2 separate regions of the Homo sapiens genome follow, and region 1 is linked to region 2. The links are contacts of gene promoters, found by promoter capture Hi-C in human tissues and cell types (Jung and others, 2019). All regions are on one chromosome and are shown on one strand. The core of a region is centred on a gene start or on the middle of the fragment in contact, and the rest is flanking DNA. Distances in the headings are between cores, read along the strand shown. Region 1 overlaps RPA1 (replication protein A1). Region 2 holds the start of SERPINF2 (serpin family F member 2).

Region 1 (2,867 bases), core at 122-2,621, 150 kb after region 2:
TCACAGCTCACCTCAGCCTCTGGAGTAGCTGGGACTACAGGTGCACACCACCGTGCCCTGACAGATTTTTGTAGAGACTAGGTCTCACTATGTTGCCTGGCTGGTATCGAACTCCTTGGCTTAGGCAATCATGTTGCCTCTGCCTCCCAAAGTGCTGGGATTACAGGTGTGAGCCACTGCACCTGGCCTCTTCTGCAGCTTCCTGACCTCTCTCAGCCTTCACAGAATTGAAGAAAGGTGAGGCCTTGCTCTGGGTTAGGCTTTGGCTTAAGAGAATGTTGTGGCTTGCTTGATATTCTATCTAGACCACTACAGCTTACTCCATATCAGCAGTAAGGCTGTTTGCTTTCTTATTTGTGTATTCAAAGAAGAGAGACAGGAATACTTGATTGGAGGATCAGTCAGCATACATACAACATTCATCAATATAAGTTCCCCATCTTATATGGGTGTAGTTGGTGGCACCCCAGAACAACTACAATAGTGACGTTAAAGATCACTGTAGGCCAGGCGCGGTGGCTCATTCCTGTAATCCCAGCACTTTGGGAGGCTGAGGCAGGCGGATCACCTGAAGTCAGGAGATCGAGACCATCCTGACCAACGTGGTTAAAACCCCGTCTCTACTAAAAATACAAAAATTAGCTGGGCGTAGTGGTGCATGCCTGTAGTCCCAGCTTCTCGGGAGGCTGAGGCAGGAGAATCGTTTGACCCTGGGAGGCGGAGATTTCAGTGAGCTGAGATCATGCCACTGCACTCCAGCCTGGTGACAGAGCGAGACTCCGTCTCAGAAAAAAAAAAAAAATCACCATAACAGATATGATAATAATGAAAAAGGGCCAGGCATGGTGGCTTACTCCTATAATCCTAGCACTTCGGGAGGCCAAGGTGGGTGGATCACTTGAGGTTTGGAGTTCGAGACCAGCCTACCCAACATGGCAAAACCCCATCTCTACTAAAAAATACAAAAATTAGCCAGGCGTGGTAGTGCACGCCTGTAGTCCCAGCTACTTGGGTGGCTGAGGCAGGAGAATCACTTGAACCTGGGAGGTGGAGGCTGCAGTGATCAGAGATTACACCACTCACTGCACCCCAGCCTGGGCGACAGAGCGAGACTCTGTCTCAAAAAATACATATATAATGAAAAAGTTTGAAATCTTGCAAGAATTACTGTCTTTATGTGACACAGAGACATAAAGTGAGCACCTGCTATTGGGAAAATAGTGCATTTACTTGACCCAGGGGTGCCACAAGTCTTCAATCTGTAAAAAATGCCGTATCTGTCAAGTGCAGTAAAGCAAAGCACAATAAAGTGAGGTGTGTCTGTAGTTGCAGCAGAGACTGTGACCAAATGGCTGCTAAGGCCTGAAATATTTACTGTTTGGCTTTTTACAGAAGCAGCTTGCTGATCCCTGGCCTAAACAAGGAAAAGGTGAATCTAGGCCTAGACACGACTGCCGTGTTTTGAGCGCGGGAGGGATGGTTGATCGTTGCTGCACTGGGTGTTTGTGGTCCGCATTCTGTATTTCCTAGATCTGTGGCCTTTGGAGGGTCAGAGGATCGGGAGGAACAAATCTTTGTCTTTCATACAGTGTTCAAGCAAACAGGAAAACAATTTCACTTTTAATTAACTTAGTGTAATTTAGGATTAACTCTTTTATTGTGAAGGAATTATCTGCCTCAGAACTTGGCTTATTAGAACTTGGCTTATTACCTTCATGGGTTTTGTACTCGGCACATGTGATTTCTAAAACTACAGAATGAATGATTCCCTGTGATCATGTGTAATCTTGAGGATGTAGAAACACTTACCACCTAAACGTAAGGGCAGGCTTTGAGCTGCCTCTCGGTCCGATCCTGGGCGGGCTCGCGACTCCGTGCCTCATGCTGTTCTTTTCTCCCGAAGCCGGACTACTTTAGTTCTGTGGCCACAGTGGTGTATCTTCGCAAAGAGAACTGCATGTACCAAGCCTGCCCGACTCAGGACTGCAATAAGAAAGTGATTGATCAACAGAATGGATTGTACCGCTGTGAGAAGTGCGACACCGAATTTCCCAATTTCAAGTACCGCATGATCCTGTCAGTAAGTAGCCTCGGTAGATGAGAACCACGGTTGTGTTCACGGAGGCCCTCCCGTGTGCCAGGCACTGTGGTCACAACAGTAGAGACAAAGCATTCCTGGTAGGAAGCCCGCAGATGAGTAGGTGTGGAAGAGCTTATCCATCCGCTTTTTCATGCCAGAAAGTGGTGTTGAGATACCCCAGCTGATTCAGTCTTTCATGCACGTCATACAGCCATAGCGTCAGTGACACTTGCCTGCTAACTGCTATGAAGATAAATTAATTTGAAAACGGCATTTATAGACAGCACTAATTGTACTTACACAGCCAATGCCCGTATTTAGTCACTTTCATGTGGATAATCTATTCTCTAGCTTTAGTATAGCTGACTTCAGAGGAATGTGACGGTGTGCTGATGTGAGATTGTTGCTTTTTTGCATTTTAAGAATTGTTTCTTTCTGTTTTAAAAACCTTTTTAAAAAAGTTGTAAAGTTGGGTTTAAAAAAATTTTTTTTTTTTTTTAAGAAACAGGGGTCTCACTCTGTTGCCCAGAATAGAGTGCAATGGTATCATCACAGCTCATGGTGGCCCCAACCTCCCGGGCTTAAGCAGTCCTTCCACCTTGGCCTCCCAAGTAGCTGCAACTACAGCTGTGCACCACCACACCCAGCTAATTTTTAAAATTATTTTATTGTAGAGACAGGGTCTCGCTCTGCTGTTCAGGTTGGTCTCAAGTTCCTGGCCTCATGTCATCCTCCCACCTCAGCCTTCCAAAGTGCTGGCATTACAAGCCTGAGCCACTGCACCCGG
Region 2 (3,022 bases), core at 290-2,789:
GGAAGGGGCCTGATGCAGGGAGTGAGGCGCAAGACAGTGAGGGTGGGAAGGAGCCTGATGCAGGGAGTGAGGCGCAGGACAGTGAGGGTGGGAAGGAGCCTGATGCAGGGAGTGAGGAGCAGGACAGTGAAGGTGGGAAGGAGCCTGATGCAGGGAGTGAGGAGCCGGACAGTGAGGGTGGGAAGGAGCCTGATGCAGGGAGTGAGGAGCTGGACAGTGAGGATGGGAAGGAGCCTGATGCAGGGAGTGAGGAGCAGGACAGTGAGGGTGGGAAGTGGCCTGATGCAGGGAGTGAGGCGCAGGACAGTGAGGGTGGGAAGGAGCCTGATGCAGGGAGTGAGGAGCAGGACAGTGAGGGTGGGAGGCGGCCTGATGCAGGGAGTGAGGAGCCGGACAGTGAGGGTGGGAGGCGGCCTGATGCAGGGAGTGAGGAGCAGGACAGTGAGGGTGGGAAGTGGCCCGATGCAGGGAGTGAGGCGCAGGACAGTGAGGGTGGGAAGGAGCCTGATGCAGGGAGTGAGGAGCCGGACAGTGAGGGTGGGAAGGAGCCTGATGCAGGGAGTGAGGAGCCGGACAGTGAGGGTGGGAAGGAGCCTGATGCAGGGAGTGAGGAGCAGGTGTGAGGGCGGGAAGCGGCCTGATGCAGGGAGTGAGGAGCAGGACAGTGAGGGTGGGAAGGGGCCTGATACAGGGAGTGAGGAGCAGGACAGTGAGGGTGGGAAGGAGCCTGATGCAGGGAGTGAGGAGCCGGACAGTGAGGGTGGGAAGCAGCCTGATCTTTGCACGGGCTGCCAGGCTTCTGGTTCATACAGCCCCAGGTCAGTTTCCAGAACCCTCGCTCTTGGGTAGGGGAAAGAGACATTGCTCTGGAGTGGCAGGACGGTGGGAGAAGTTGAGTCCCTCTCATTTCTCCTCCCTCACCCCCTGCCTTCCATCCCAGTCTGAAGGCAGCCAACCTGATCCTGGGCTTGGAAGGTTGGGGGTGGGCTTCCTATCCTGGGCTCTCTGCATAGGCTCTTGTGGCTTCCCCTTTCCTCCCCTCAGGAGCGGGAGGCAGCTCTCTGGGAGAAGAAAGGACATTGGGAGTGAGAATCTGGATGTGCCTCAGCCCAGCTCTGTGTCCTTGGGCAGGTCACATGGCCTCTCTGAGCCTGGCTGAACCAGGGATAATCCACACCTCGTGGGGTCTCTGGAAGGCTTAACACAGTGCTAGGTTCCTGTGCTTTCTGGATCCGCCCTCTTGGCTAGCCAGATCCAGTCTCTTCAACTCTCTCCTCCTGAACTTTCTCTTTCCAGGCTCGGGGGGGGGGACCCAAATATAGGGGGTTCTGCGTGGCTGCCTCAGGGTTAGATGCCCTGGTGGGAAAGGGGCTTCTGGCTTCAAGATCAATGTTTAACTGGATGTGCAAGTCAATATTTACCAGAAGAGAAAGCAATCTGAACAGGGGTTGGCTGAGAGTAAAGGTCCTGGTGGGAGGGGAGGGGTGGGCTGGGCCAGCTGGAGCCTGGGCAGAGAGTGAGGAGCACCCAAGTGGGGCCAGAGGAACGTTGTGTGTGGCAGCAAGGAGCCCGCAGAGGTATGAGGGGAGGGGCTGCTCGGCCTGCTCCTTGGGTAGGAGAGGAGGAGGGAGCTGCCTCCCTGGCTGAGGGGTCTGGGATTTATTCAGGAGGCCTGTCACTCCCCAGCCTCTTCTGGGACTTGAAAAACTGGAGCCTGTTCTTGGCAAGAAGATTCTAATGCCCAGGTCGGAGTCGGGGCCCTGGCCAAGGGCTCTTGTGTGGGATGGGGGTGGGGCCGGGGGGACCAAAGGATCCTCCAGAAGGGTTGGCCCCAAGATGGGGGTGGGCTGGAGGTAGCTGAGACCTGCTCTGACTTATCCTCCTGAGACCAACACCTGCCCTTCCCAGAGCCAGCCTGGAGCAGAGGCCTGTGATGCTCCTAAGTGCAGAGGTGGCTCTGGCCAGAGTCATTCACTGGGCTCTGCTGCTGGGTCAAAAGGCAGCTCTCTGGCTGCCTTGCCACCCATGGTGAGACCTCAGGGCCTCACAGGTATGTCCAGCCTTGTGGGCAAGACCTGACCAGCCTGAGAAAGACGGGTTGGGGCCAGGCGTGGTGGCTCATGCCTGTCATCCCAGCACTTTGGGAGGCTGAGGCAGGTGGATCACCTGAGGTCAGGAGTTCGAGACCAGCCTGACCAACATGGAGAAACCCTGTCTCTACTAAAAATACAAAATTAGCCAGGCATGGTGGCACATGCCTGTAATCCCAGCTACTCGGGAGGCTGAGGCAGGAGAATCGCTTTAACCCAGGAGGTGGAGGTTGCAGTGAGCCGAGATCGTGCCATTGCACTCCAGCCTGCATGATAAGAATGAAACTCCATCTCAAAAAAAAAAAAAAAAAAAAAAAAGACAGGCTAAATGGATGCAGCAGGCTGGGTAGGAGCTCTGTGTTGGAGCTCTGCGGTGGAGGCTTCAGGGCAGGCTTCCCAGAAGAGGTGGCCTTGAGCCAAGCTGACCCCAGCCATCGGGGGAGTGCCAAGCATTGTACTCAGGGTTTACAAAGATGGTCTTATTTATTTTTTTGAGACAGAGTCTTGCTCTGTCGCCCAGGCTGGAGTGCAGTGGCGTGATCTCGGCTCACTGCAACCTCCGCCTCCCGGGTTCAAGCAGTTCTCTGCCTCAGCCTCCCGAGTAGCTGGGATTACAGGGGCCCACCACCACGCCTGGCTAATTTTGTATTTTCAGTAGAGATGGGGTTTTACCATGTTGGCCAGGCTGGTCTTGAACTCCCGACCTCAGGTGATCCACCTGCCCCTGGCCTCCCAAAGTGCTGGGATTACAGGCTTGAGCCACCGTGCCTGGCCACAAAGATGGTCTTTTGCCGGGTGCAGTGGCTCATGCCTGTAATCCCAGTACTTTGGGAGGCCGAGGCAGGAGGATCACCTGAGGTCGGGAGTTTAAGACCAGCCTGACTAACACAGAGAAACCCCGTTTCTACTAAGAAATACAGAATTAGCCAGGC

The links. Contacts are between HindIII fragments. The study calls those that stand out against the background at their distance.
Region 1: a fragment that was not itself captured here is called in contact with the fragment with the promoter of SERPINF2 in region 2 in 1 of the 25 tissues and cell types used here (pancreas).

Annotation. Positions count from the first base shown.
Region 1 is chr17:1,886,772-1,889,638 of GRCh38, forward strand. It overlaps RPA1 (replication protein A1), which reads left to right. Exons shown (of 17, transcript NM_002945.5): 14 at 1,904-2,080. Among named protein-coding and RNA genes, the nearest start is that of RPA1, 58 kb to the left of the region's middle. The HindIII fragment of the contact is 3,558 bases long and covers 1-2,867 here.
Region 2 is chr17:1,741,332-1,744,353 of GRCh38, forward strand. SERPINF2 (serpin family F member 2) reads left to right here and starts at 1,540. Exons shown (of 10, transcript NM_000934.4): 1 at 1,540-1,577. The HindIII fragment of the contact is 23,738 bases long and covers 1-3,022 here.